Linked DNA regions of Homo sapiens: regions 2, 3 and 4 are each linked to region 1. The links are contacts of gene promoters, found by promoter capture Hi-C in blood cells and fetal thymus (Javierre and others, 2016). All regions are on one chromosome and are shown on one strand. Each heading gives the region's core, a stretch centred on a gene start or on the middle of the fragment in contact. The rest is flanking DNA. Distances are from core to core; before and after follow the strand shown.

Region 1 (3,530 bases), core at 449-2,948:
ATTAATAAATCGACAGCAATATCATGAAAAACATTACTTTTTGGAGGATAGTCAAGAGTGAATTACTGGATGGATCAGTCATTTATTCAACAATTAATATGTTGCCAGGCATAGGAGTCACATAGAAATTAAGATAATGTTTTTTCCCTTAAAAAGTTTCCAATAAACCAGCCTCAGCAACATATTGAGACCTCTTTCTCTACAAAGAACTTTTAAAAATCAGCCAGGCATGGTGGCATGCACTTGTGGTCCCAGCTACTCAGGAGGCTGAAGTGGGAGGATCACTTCAGCCCAGGAGTTCCAGGCTGCAGTGAGCTATGATGGCGCCACTGCACCCCAGCCTAGCAACAGAGTGAGCCCCTGTCTCTCCCTTAAAAAAAAAAAAAATGCAGCCAGCATGACCACCCACTACAAAGAATATTGCATTTCAAGGGAGGAAGGACCAGACTGTGGTGAAGAAGTTTTACTCTTTCACATCTTTTGTCCCACTACAAATCACCTATTTACTACTGGAACACACACACACACACACACACACACACACACACACACACACTTTTGGGGGAAATATTTTTGTATTTACAGACATTATTATTGGTCATTTATAAAGTATTGAGTTTTTAAGGATCTAAAAACCATCTCTCTGGTTTAAAACTTTAACAAACAACAATAATGTAATTAGAAAGTAAAAATTGTAATAAGAGTTTTCAGTATTGGCCAGGTGCTGTGGCTCATGACTGTAATCCCAGCACTTTGGGAAGACGAGACGGGCGGATCACCTGGGGTCAGGAGTTCGAGATCAGCCTGGCCAACATGGTGAAACCCTGTCTCTACTAAGAATACAAAATTAGCCGGGTGTGGTGGCACACGCCTGTAATCCCAACTACTTGGGAGGCTGAGGCAGGAGAATCGCCTGAACCCGGGAGGTGGAGACTGCAGTGAAAGGAGATAGCGCCATTGCATTCCAGCCTGGGCAACAAGAGCGAAATTCCGTCTAAAAAAAAAAAAGAGTTTTGAGTATAATTTTTATTTCTACATTCATTACAAAACACAGCTGCAGGGCCCACTTGCTGGAGACAGCGCCACTGAGGAGGGGAGACGTCTTAGCCACGGTTATAGAAACCCTGTTTCCCAGCCCGTCCCTTTCCCCATGCACAGGTGACCTCAAAGGCCCCACAGCGCTGAGGGGCTGTGACTAAGTGCCACTGTGAGAAGCTCCAGTGCGTTCACCGGGTTTATTAATAGGAACATGACTGCACGCGTGGGGCCGAACCCCGTTCTTCTTCTCGGTGCTCGCGCCCTAACCGGGGTGCGGCGGTCAGAGGGTCACAGATCAGCTGAAACCCTGGGACCACCATCGAGAAGCAAGAAAACTGATTAAGAGAATGACTTATCCCGCCGACGGTATAGAGACCACAGCTACCTCTCCCACAGCCCAGCAAGACCCGGGGGCTCCCAAAGGCCAGCGCGGGAACCCCGCTGAGAAAACGTCTGGGTGGCGGGCAAGCCCCCTCCACGCCCCTCAGCAGCGCGCCGCTGCCGCCGCGGTCTCCCTCCTTGAATCACTCACCGCCCCAGGGCCCAGCCGGGGATGGAGCAGGAAGTGAGTCCTCCACCGCCGAGCCGCACCCGGCCCGCAACCCCGAGGCTGTGCCTCCCAGAACCCGACCGGGATTCGTGACAGGGCTGTGGGGACACAGGTGGGACTCCGGCTTCGACAGCCAGCGGCCGGAAAGTACCGCCCCCATCCTCTTGCTATTGGCTTTTCAGTTTCCATGGCTAGAATTTTTCTCTGTCCATAGGCTGATAGAGCTGTCAATTATCGCCTAGCCTTCTGGGAAACGTAGTCCCGAGCAAGACCTCAAAGGACTCGGAGCCGTGGATGTCCAGTTCCAAGCGTTGGAAAGTGCTAAACCCAATTCCCCAGCTACCGGTCCCCCGGAACCGCCTGTTTGGAGCCGAGGGATCTAAATGCTGTATCCTCACTGTGGCATCTGCAGATGTGAATCTCCTGGCCTCACCCACCTACCGCGGAGCAGCCTGGTGCCCACCATGAGGTCTCCCGCGCTCTGGCACTTCGCCCCTCCCCAGCGCAGAGCAGCTCAGCCCTCGGGCCTTTGCGGCCTCTCTTCTGCCCAGTCTTCCACCTCATCCCCGGCGGCCGGAGCCTGCAGGGTGTTTGCGGAGGCCAGGTCCCAGACCAACTCAAACTGGACATTGGAAAGGCCCAGCAGAAGCCCTTAGTAGAAAACAGACATTCCGCATCCTTCCCTTGGCATCAAACTCCCAGGCACATCCCCTTTCCGTCTGGTTGATAGCCAGAGGAGGCGGGCGAGGGCATCAAGTATTCTGGGAAATGTGATATCGGGCTTCAAACTGGGGAGGCTCCTGGGTCTCATGTGAGAGCCAGTGATCACTTTGGGTCGGCCCCTAGCTAAAAAACAACAAAGTCTTTCCTTAAAGTGAAGAAAATGTGCCTGTCTACTCCGTTTGTTGATTCAGTGCAATTTAGAAAAATAAAAGAACATTTTGTGATGTATTATAAAACGCTTAGAATTACCAGCCATAGAGTTTTTTTTTTTTTTTTTTTTTAGACGGAGTCTCGCTCTGTCGCCCAGGCTAGAGTGCAGTGGCACGATCTCGGCTCACTGCGAGTTCTGCCTCCCAGGTTCACACCATTCTCCTGCCTTAGCCTCCCGAGTAGCTGGGACTACAGGCGCCCGCCACCACACCCGGCTAATTTTTTGTATTTTTAGTAGAGACGGGGTTTCACCATGTTAGCCAGGATGATCTCCATCTCCTGACCTCGTGATCCGCCCGCCTCGGCTTCCTAAAGTGCTGGGATTACAGGCGTGAGCCACCGTGCCCGGCCCGAGTTAATGTTGAAGATCCCTTTGATGCTAATTCCACCATTCCTTCAACAAAAATAAGGTGCATTTTCCAGTGGATATTTATTGGGAACATTCTGTTCTCAAGATCGTTCTGGGGGCAGGGCGTGGTGGCTCACGCCTGTAATCCCAGCACTTTGGGAGGCCGAGGCGGGAGGATCACGAGGTCAGGAGATCGAGACCATCCTGGCTAACATGGTGAAACCCCGTCTCTACTAAATATAGAAAAAATTAGCCGGGCGTGGTGGCGGGCGCCTGTAGTCCCAGCTACTCGGGAGGCTGAGGCAGGAGAATGATGTGAACCCGGGAGGTGGAGCTTGCAGTGAGCCGAGATCGCGCCACTGGACTCCATCCTGAGCGACAGAGCAAGACTCCGTCTCAAAAAAGAAAAAAAGAAAGAAAAAAAAAAAAGATCGTTCTGGGAACTGTGATTACTCGGGAATCATACATAACCATTACCTTCATGAAGTTCACAGGCCAAAAGGGGAAATAAACCATAAAAGGTATCAAAATCCTAAGTAATTTTTTTTTCCATATAGCCAGTGGCATCTTAGTTATTTTGCTACACAATTATAGTCATCTGCAAGGTAACTACATTGCATTTTCGGAAACTCTGTCGACTATGAACAAATGTCTGGTTAG
Region 2 (3,530 bases), core at 540-3,039, 200 kb before region 1:
ACTCAAAAAAAAAAAAAAAGAGGAAACACCTCTAATGTGCTTGCCTTGTGCCAACCACTGTTCTAAGGGTGTTATGTATAACAACTCATTTATTCTTCTCCACAAAACTCTGATATTGGCATTAGAACTATGCCCATTTTACAGGTGAGAAAAATGAGGCAAAGACATGCTAAGTGGTTTGCCCAAGGTCACACAGCTAGAAAGTGGCAGAGGCCACATTTGGATTCAGAGTATGACCCTTTTGCCCATCACACTATGCAGCCTCTGTACTGCCCTAAAGCTTCTGCCATAATATTTTAAGGCAAAGTATATGTTGTCACTTTAGTACTTGTCGTATTTCTTTTCAAGTAGATCATTGGTTTTATCCCATGGATAGACTTCTCAGGAAACATTCCCATCTCTTCCAACTTTACTGGCATGAAAATTTTCGATTAATGGAATCTGATTCAGTCTTTTAAAACATTACTTGGAGGGGTATTTTAAAGATCTCAAGTATCCATGCTATTGCTGCCCCTCCACTGCATGAACAATTGAGAGCACGTAGGAGGCAGAATGAAAATGGCAATATTCCAGTTCTCTTGCTCAAGTTCTCATGGGTACAGATGTTCCTAATTCAGTGTGTGGGACCAACGTTTCCCCGCCCCTTCTATAATTTCAAACAAAGGCTTTATCCCAGATGATTAGAGATTCATGAGTTATCTACTTTTCTCTCTCATTCTATAAGTCTTCTATTCAACATGTACGGCTAGATAAAAAGGAAGGGAAAAATGATTCGAATATGGATTAAAAATACGACAACCATATTCTTGGTCACAGCTCCTATTTCGGGACAGATGCACATTCCAAAACTATTAAGTAACCCCCTAACTCTCTGTGCTTCTCACTATTTCCTTAGGCAGAATAGAAGGACATGCTGCTGGAAGTCAAAATCAAAGGCAAACCAGTGAGCACATCACACACAGACACAGTACAAAAATCAGAGTTGCAAAGTGCATGTAGTTCAGGAGGTACGAACTCTTAAAAAGAATTCAGACAAGGTCAGAAAAATGTCAATCTCTGAAAAAGAAAATAAGAAACAACATAAAATAGATGATATTAGTAATCAGTGAACATCTTTCCCGGAAATAATTCATGCTAAAATAATTTATAAATGTGGCCTTCTAAATCTCATGCAGAAGCCCAAGGTCACTGCCCTGCCTCATTACATCTAACAGTATTTGGATAAAAGCAGATTGTCTCAGGGCTGGCAGAGAGCATGCTGTACCAAGAGTAGGGCTGGCTAAGGGAAAAAAATATAACATTATAACCTTGGGAACAAAATTCCCTCTCACATTTAAGTTCTGAGCAAAGAACTATGCCACAAACTATGAAGAATGACTACACATGATCAGAATTTAGTTAGATGCTTGGGAAGGAATCAGTTTTCTTTACACCCCAGTTCCCTTAACACAATCCAGCTCCAAAACCCCCTTGGTCAAGGCCTCATGCCTCCCCTTAGCTCAGTTTATCCTATGGATAATTACTATTATAATCCCCACTTCACATACAAAAAACTAGACTGAGATAGTTGAGGAAATGCCCAAATCATAGATTAAAAGAGTGGCAGAACCAGGACTCAAACCAGGTTTGCCTGCTGCCCGAGTCATCTTTATCACACCACAGCTCATCCTAGGGAGTACGAAAGGAAGCAGAGTTTCCACAAGTCACTGCCCATACTCCAGGAGACAAAAGAACTAGATGAGGGGTGATCAGGAATAATGAGCAGCTGGGAGCTGACCACAGAAACAGAGACAGAATTTCTGAAGACCATTAGATGACACAAGAAGCTACTTTGAGATCTCTGTGGAGACTCTCTGATCTGTGACTCAAGACAGAACCATTTTGGAATAGTCTCTGAGATTCCAAGGTCATTTGTGGCTTAAGGCAGAGCAGCCTTCTTCACCGAGGGGCAGTGGCCAGATGCCGGCTGCTCGGGCCGCAGTACTGGACACAGAGTTGATGGTGTTAAACGAGGACTAACTGGGCTGCTGACTTCTGTGGAAGGGCCAATTTCTTCGTTTCTATGTGTCCTGTGCCTAATACAGACCTGCTGCCACAGCAGGCGCTCGGGAAACATTTGCCAATTCAATTATTTATTAATCAATTAATGAAGAGTGAAAAAGAAAAGTAGTTAACACCACTCTTGGAGTAGGGACGGAGCAGGAGACCACGACACCCAACACCTTCACAGGGTCAGTCTGTTCCTTTAGAAGACATTTGTGTGTGTGTGTGTGTGTGTGTGCGTGTGTGTGTGTGCGTGTGTGTAATGTAATGTAATGTAAGGGCGCGCCTTACCACACACCCTTTCAGAGGAACCGCCACATTTTACAGTGAGAAATTCTACCAAGCGGAGATCTGATTTTGGGGGCATCCTTTTTTGAAATGCTTGTACTCAGAGCAGTTAAGTGGAGGTTCAAAGTTTTTGATATGAACTTAATCAGGGTGCTTTGCTTACCACTAAAAGAAACACTTCAACCAAGGCATAGAAATCTGATTGGCTGATAAAGACGAGCAGGGAAGGGAAGATCACCTTAAAGCCCTGGGCTCTTAAGGGAAGGTGAGGACTTAATCCGGTGCTGAAACTGGGACCTAGAACGCAGCATTAGAATGCCTACCTCCTCCAAGAACTCTCCCACTTCTCAAAATAGGGGGCAGTGCTGTCCAGTTCGGTGGCCACCAGCCACATGTGCCTCCTGAGCACTTGAAATGTGGCTTAATGCAACCAAGGAACTGAATTTTTAATTGTATTTAATCTTAATTAAATACAATTAATTAATGGAAATAGCCACAAATGACTAGTGACTAACATATTGGACAGCAGCGGTGAGGGGGAGACAGTAAGAAGCACAGAAAAAAAGAGGTAGAAAGTGATAAAGACAAACTTCCTACTTCACAATTGTTCCTAAGCACGATTTGTATTACTATACTACTGACTTTTGCTTAGTACTTTAGTTTCCAGAGATATGCATTTATTCCGCATTCATTAGATCCTTATGAACAACTCTATCAAGTAACCGTCATTATCATCACTTCTAGATGAGTCAGAGAATTCTGTGATTTACCTAAGGAGACTCAGTCGGGAGGAGTCTAATTATGTAACCCCAACACTGTCCAGATGGCATGAAGAAACTTCACCTCTTCCTTTCAGAAAAAGGAAGTAGAGGACAGATCGGTGCTTTGTTCATCTCATTGTTCTGCCCTACACAACCTGAAAATATTTAATGAGAATCAGCCTCTCTTGTTTCATTCCGTAAGCTTCTCACCTGCTTGGAATTGAGCTCCTTGGCATTATTAGGAGTGCTCCCTGGGCAACAGGACAGGCAGAGCTCATCCTTCCCTACAAACCCGTTTCTGATCCCCTTTCCCAGGCCTGCATCCTCAGTGAGGGGGCAGGAGCCCTGAGAGGTTGGCTTCCATGGAAAGCAAAGGGGTTCTGGATTATGCATGGTGGTACCTATATGCTACTTTATATTACCTTGAAATAACAAAAA
Region 3 (3,530 bases), core at 381-2,880, 160 kb before region 1:
AAATTGTTTTGTCATAAACTCACGAAGTGTTTTTCTCTTTTAAAAATTTTCCATTGAAAAAGCTTAGGCTGGATGTGGTGGCTCATGCCTGTAATCCCAGAACTTTAGGAGGCCGAGGAGGGCGGATCACCTGAGGTGGGGAGTTCGAGACCAGCCTGACCAACATGGAGAAACCCCCATCTCTACTAAAAAAAAAAAAAAAAATTAGCCGGCCGTGATGGCGCATGTCTGTAATCCCAGCTACTCGGGATTGCTTGAACCCGGGAGGTGGAGGTTGCTGTGAGTCGAGATCGTGCCATTGCACTCCAGCTGTGGGCAACAAGAGTGAAACTCTGTCTCAAAAATAAATAAATAAATAAATAAATAAATAAATAAAAATTTAAAAAAAGAAGAAAAAGCTAGAGGCCAGGTGCAGTGGCTCACGGCTATAATCCCAGCAATCCCAAGATCATCTGAGGTCAGGAGTTTGAGACCAGCCTGGCCAACATGGTGAAACCCCATCTCTACTAAAAATACAAAATTAGCTGGGCTTGGTGGCACATGCCTGTATCCCAGTTACTCGGGTGGCTGAGGCAGGAGAAATCACCTGAACTTGGGAGGCAGAGGTTGCAGTGAGCTGAGATCGTGCCATTGTACTCCAGCCTGGAAGACAGAGTGAGACTCCATCTCAAGAAAAAAAAGAATTTTTATGAATATGTATATCGATATACATACAGTGGATTGAAAGACATGGAATATATTAAAAAGCCAGGGGTTCATTATGATTTTTGAAAAACAAAGGCTCCCTGGTCATTTAGAGCCCACTAGGGAAGCAGCTTATTCTGAAAACTAGTAAACAAAGGGAGAGAATCAAGCACTCATCATCTGTTCCTGAATGAATGTTCTACAAGGCAACAAAATAGTTGAAGAGAGGAAGTTTTTTTTTTTTTAAGGAGAATTCTGTTAAATAAAGAAGGAATGATATTAATAGCATATCACCATTTTGCAACCCCCAATGAAATAAGAGGCTGGGCATGGTGGTTCACGCCTGTAATCCCAGGACCTTGGGAGGCCAAGGCAGGAGGACCACTTGAGCACAGGAGTCTGAGACTAGCCTGGGCAACATAGTGAGACTTCGTCTCTAAAAAAAGTGAAAAAATACTAAAAAAAATAGGCCAGGTGCAGTGGCTTATGCCTGTAATCCCAGCACTTTGGGAGGCTAAGTCGGGCGGATCATGAGGTCAAGAGATTGAAACCATCCTGGCCAATGTGGTGAAACCCTGTTTCTAATAAAAATACAAAAAATTAGCTGGGCATGGTGGCACGTGCCTGTAGTTCCAGCTACTCAGGAGGCTGAGGCAGGAGGATCACTTGAACCTGCCTCTTAGCTGAGCTCATGCCACTGCACTCCAGCCTGGCAACAGAGCAAGACTTTGTCTCAAAAAAAAAAAAAAAAAAAAAAAAGTAAAATAAATAAATAAATAAATGTAGGCAGCCATTACCAGTGGCTGCTGAATCCATGTGATACGTGGTGAAAGCCGATGGGAAATTATAATGAATGGGTCAAGCTGGCAACATCTGAATCCAAAGATCAGCCTTTACATCATAAAAACATAAGCCCTGACATGATGTAATAGGAAAACCAAAGTATTCTTGCCACAAGATTGAAACTGAGTCTGATCCACAGGATGACATGAGAAACCCAGAATGTGATTCTACAGGATTAGCATCAAATACATTGCAAGGAAAAAAAAAAAAAAGGCTGGGTGCGGTGGCTCACTCCCATAAACCCAACACTTTGGGAGGCTGAGGCAGGGAGATCACTTGAGGTCAGGAGTTTGAGATCAGCCTGGACAACTTAGTGAAACCCCATATCTACTAAAAAATACAAAAATTAGCTGGACATGGCGGCACATGCCTGTATCCCAGCTACTGAGGAGTCTGAGGCAGAGAAACTGCTTGAACCCAAGAGGTGGAAGTAGCAGTGGGCCAAGATCACGCCACTGAACTCCAGCCTGGGTGACAGAACGATACCCTGTCTCTAGAAAAAAAAAAAAAAAAAAAGGACACAATGACCAATCTAACGGTGAGGAACACCCCTAGCACCCACCCAGACTGCATCCTTGAAATACCATTACCCGCTAACAGTAACCAGGGCTCCACAGAAAAATGGTGGATTCCAGGTCTGGGGCTGAGAAATGCAATAAGATGAGCCTGGAACGTCTTATGCTAGAAATCAAGGAAACTATCAAAGATTACTAGGGTCACGTCAAAAGTACTCAACAGTCACTGTGAAGGAAATTTATTGGTCAAAGAGGGGACAATTTGAGCATTCAAAAAATTATATATGGCCGGGCGTGGTGGCTCACACCTGTAAAATCCCAGCACTTTGGGAGGCCGAGGCAGGCGGATCATTTGAGGTCAGGAATTTGAGACCAGCTTGGCCAATATGGCAAAACCCCGTCTGTACTAAAAATAATAAAAAATTAGCCGGGTGTGGTGGCAGTCACCTGTAATCCCAGGTACTCGGGAGGCTGAGGCAGGAGAATCACTTGAACCTGGGAGGCTGAGGTTGCAGTGAGCTGAGATCAAGCCACTGCCCTCCAGCCTGGGCAACAGAGTGAGATTCTGTCTCAAAAAAAAAAAGAAAAGGAAAAGATATTTAAGAGACCTATCAACTAAATGTAATGCATGGATCTTGTCTGGCACCTGATTCAAAAATACAAACTGAACAATGATAAGATGAATGGGGAAATTTAAACGGTGATATTTTAAAATTTAAAAATTTAAATTAAAAATGTAAATGGTGATATTTAAACGGTGTGATATTTTAAAATAATTTGATATTTTAAAATAATTTGTTAGGTGTGATGATGGGATGGGGATTTTTTTTAAGTCCTTATCTGTAAGAGCAGCGTCTCACCCCAGGCATTATTAATATTTGAGGCTGGATCATTCTTGGTTGCAGTGGGCTGTCCTGTTGCACTGAAAGATGTCAAGTGGCATCCCTCACCTCTACCCACTAGATGCCAGTAGCACCTCTTTCGTCAGGCCAATTAAAAATATTTCCAAACAGCCAAATATCTTCTGTGATTAAAAAAAAAAAAAACTGTGTTAGAGACATGTACTGCAGTATTTATGGTTGAAATGATACTATACCTGGGTTTTGTCAAAGTAACCCAAGAGGGTTTGGGCAGAGGTACAGGTGAAATAAGCTTAACTGTGTGTTGATAATTGCTGGGCTGCATGATGGACACATGGGTGCTCATTACATTATTCCCCGTTTATATGTTGAAAGTTCCCTGCAATAAAAGTTAAAAAATTATAGTACCAAAGGAGTATTAAAATATTTCTGTTTTCCCAAGCGTATTAACATATTGGATTAAATAAGCTATCTTTAAGTTAAAGAGTTATGAGTATAGGCTGGCGCCGCGGCTCATGCCTGTAATCCCAGCACTTTGGGAGGCCGAGGCGGGCAGATCACGAGGTCAGGAGATAGAGACCATCCTGGCCAACATGGTGAAACACCATCTCTACTAAAAATACAAAAA
Region 4 (3,357 bases), core at 526-3,025, 140 kb before region 1:
CAAAATCACACAACTGGGCTAGGCGCGGTGGCTCATGCCTGTAATCCCAGCACTTTGGGAGGCCAAGGTAGGCGGATCATGAGGTCAGGAGTTCAAGACCATCCTGACTAACACGGTGAAACCGTCTCTACTAAAAGTACAAAAACAAAATTAGCCGAGCATGGGGCGAGTGCCTGTAGTCCCAGCTACTCAGGAGGCTGAGGCAGGAGAATGGCGTGAACCCAGGAGGTGGAGCTTGCAGTGAGCCAAGATCGCGCCACTGCACTCCAGTCTGGGCGACAGAGCGAGACTCCGTCTCAAAAAAACAAAAAACAAGCAAACAAACAAATCACACAACTGCTTAGGTGCTTAGGGCTTCTTTCCTGGACTCCAGGTACAATCACCGAGACTGGACTCTACTGGCTACAAAGTCATTTTTCTCTACCACATTTTGAGACATGGAAGCCATTTAATTTTATTAAAAACATAGCTGTATAAATGTTATAACTATACTAATACAACAAGACCAGTGCTTAGTAAATCCTTGCTAATTCTTTGTGTCACTTTGTCACAAGGTGGAATCATGCTCGAGCCTTGCCTCTGCTTTCAAACATTCTGCAGACACCACAATCTAACAGGGAAACACCTTCCCTTGATACTGCCATCCTTCATAGTCGCCATCCTTCATAGTCACCGTCCATTGTCTGTCCCTGTCCAACATATGATCTACACTCACTGTTTCGTTCTTTCAGCACTTTCTTCTTTACTGCTCTTATCACCAATTACCATTCCCCTGTCCAAAATCCAAAGCCTTTTCTGTCACCTTGCTCATCTTCTCTGCACTGTCTTCTTGCTCTATGCATGGTTTGGTACTTCTATGTGATCTGTGACCATTTCTCTCTGTTTACTCTCAATACTTCATTGACTGCCTCTGTGTTGACAGATCCTAAATCTTTGTGACCATGGCTCTGGTGCCATATTCTGAGCTGTTTGTACTGGGATGTTTACATTCGGGATGGCTCATAGTTCAAACTTGTAATTCCCCCTAACTGGAGCAATTCCCTTTCCCAATAGTCCCCTTTTTTCTAATGTCAAGACTACTCTGCATCACATAATGTAAACAGCATAAGCTTTGGAGGCAGACAGAACTGGATCCACCTCCGGTTCTGTCACTGCAAGCTGATGATCTTAGCCAGTTAACCTGTAAGGGTCTTGGTTTCCTCATCTGCAAAATAAGGATGAAAAGACTCGACTCATGGGAATATTGTAAGGATTAAATTAAAGAACAGAGGTGAGAGCACCAAACACATACTAGGTTCTCAATAAAGACTGGCTCCTCCTTCCTTATTTCAAATTTCTTTCTAGGTTCAACATGTTTCAAGTATTGGTTTACATGTCCTTACTTGCCTTTCACACATATCTAATCAGTAATCAGTCATAGCAACTGACAGCTGAGACTTCATTGAAAACAATGGTTTCCAAATAGTTCTCTGTGCAGCCTCAAGAGTTTGCCAGAGGCATCACAGAGTCCTATAGGGCTGGATTTCAGATGCCCTATTGCTGGCTATCAGAGTAGCTCCAGAGTAGCAGAGTACCTGCTCTATATACTGGGCTTTTAGCTAAGTTGTCATTTAATGAAACAGATTACCATGCTTAAAATTTGAGAATGAATGACTTGACCTACTTTCCTTACTTGACAAATGAGAACAGAGGTCTATGGCCGGGTGCAGTGGCTCACACCTGTAATCCCAGCACTTTGAGAGGCCACAGTGGGTGGGTCATTTGAGGTCAAGAGTTTGAGACCAGCCTGGCCAACATCGTGAAATCCTGTCTCTACTAAAAATACAAAAATTAGCCAGGTGTGGTGGTTCACACCTGTAGTCCAGCTACTCGGGAGGCTGAGGCAGGAGAATCGCTTGAACCCAGGAGGCGGAGGTTGCAGTGAGCCAAGATCACGCCACTGCAGTCCAGCCTGAGTGAGAGTGAGACTCTGTCTCAAATTAAAAAAAAAAAAAAAAAAGAAACAAGGGTCTTAGATATGACATGACTCATCCAACCCTACAAAATGCCAGGACCCAACCATCTGCCCACCCCACTGGACCTTATCACACACCTATATGACTCAACTACATCTGCTCTAATAGCACTGCTGAATTAATTAACTTTTATTAAATGGTCTTCAACCTTACAGAGGCTCTTTATTCCTTATCTCTGCAGTGACAAATTCCCATCTAGTTTGTGAGTTCTAAATAATTTGGTCTCATGTTTTATTTCTCACTACTCACCTCCACCCACAGCTCCATTCTAGACATGTAGTCTAGTCGCATCATGCTCTTCCCTCCTTTGTACCTTTGTTCACATCGCTCTCCTGCCTCGAATGCCCTCTCTTGTCTTACATGCACACCCAAATCCTTTCCACCTTTATACATCTGGCTCCGGTTCCACTTCTTTTAGGAAGCTTCCTAATGCACTGCTTCACTGGCCTCTTTCCTGAAACTTCTCTTATTTTTCAGTCAGTAACATAGTTAATTTTGAAACAGTTCATCACTGTTTCAGGTATATATGTCACATTTCCCCAACAAGACCATGGGTTCACTGAGTTTAGGAGCCACATTCTGTACTTTTCTTCTATCTACCAAGGCATGTAACAGAATTCAAAATATATAATATTCAATAAATTGCAGTGAACCCTACACATTCATGGTTTCAACCAACCCTGAAACTGTTTGAAAAAAAAATACAACAATACAAAATAATACAAATTTTAAAAATACAGTAACAACTATTTACACAGCATTTATATTGTAGTAGGTATTATAAGTAGTCTAGAGATGATTTAAAGTATATGGGAGAACGTAAGTATATGCAAATACTACAACATTTTATTTATTTATTTATTTATTTATTTATTTATTATTATTTTTTGAGACGGAGTCTCGCTCTGTCGCCCAGGCTGGAGTGCAGTGGTGCGATCTTGGCTCAATGCAGGCTCCGCCTCCTGGGTACATGCCATTCTCCTGCCTCAGCCTCCCAAGTAGCTGGGACTACAGGCATCTACCACCTAGCCTGGCTAATTTTTTGTATTTTTAGTAGAGACGGGGTTTCACGTGTTAGCCAGGATGGTCACAATCTCCTGACCTCGTGAACTACCCACCTCAGCCTCCCAAAGTGCTGGGATTACAGGCATGAGCCACCATGCCCGGCCAAATACTACACCATTTTATATAAGGGACTTCAACATCTATGGATTTTGGTATTGGCCGGGGGTGGGGAGAATGGGTGCTGGAAAGAATCGCCTGTGGATACCAAGGGATGGATATACGGGATGGGCACAATGATTCTGCATGCAAGTGCCAGTGAGCTTCCTGTCCAAAGGAC

What was found. Contacts are between HindIII fragments. The CHiCAGO score rates a contact against its expected background, and 5 or more counts as called.
Region 2: a fragment that was not itself captured here is called in contact with the fragment with the promoter of ZNF774 in region 1 in 1 of 17 cell types (monocytes); the score reaches 5.1 in monocytes.
Region 3: a contact is called between a fragment that was not itself captured here and the fragment with the promoter of ZNF774 in region 1, in 1 of 17 cell types (endothelial precursors). The highest score is 6.3, in endothelial precursors.
Region 4: a contact is called between a fragment that was not itself captured here and the fragment with the promoter of ZNF774 in region 1, in 13 of 17 cell types (endothelial precursors, naive CD8 T cells, megakaryocytes and 10 more). The highest score is 12.5, in endothelial precursors.

What each region holds. Positions count from the first base shown.
Region 1 is chr15:90,350,452-90,353,981 of GRCh38, reverse strand. ZNF774 (zinc finger protein 774) reads right to left here and starts at 1,698. Exons shown (of 4, transcript NM_001004309.3): 1 at 1,571-1,698. The HindIII fragment of the contact is 4,226 bases long and covers 1-3,530 here.
Region 2 is chr15:90,550,696-90,554,225 of GRCh38, reverse strand. All of the region lies in intron 2 of CRTC3 (CREB regulated transcription coactivator 3), which reads right to left. Among named protein-coding and RNA genes, the nearest start is that of CRTC3, 23 kb to the right of the region's middle. The HindIII fragment of the contact is 3,014 bases long and covers 283-3,296 here.
Region 3 is chr15:90,506,180-90,509,709 of GRCh38, reverse strand. No RefSeq gene overlaps it. Among named protein-coding and RNA genes, the nearest start is that of CRTC3, 22 kb to the left of the region's middle. The HindIII fragment of the contact is 3,132 bases long and covers 65-3,196 here.
Region 4 is chr15:90,487,768-90,491,124 of GRCh38, reverse strand. All of the region lies in intron 33 of IQGAP1 (IQ motif containing GTPase activating protein 1), which reads right to left. Among named protein-coding and RNA genes, the nearest start is that of CRTC3, 40 kb to the left of the region's middle. The HindIII fragment of the contact is 1,328 bases long and covers 1,112-2,439 here.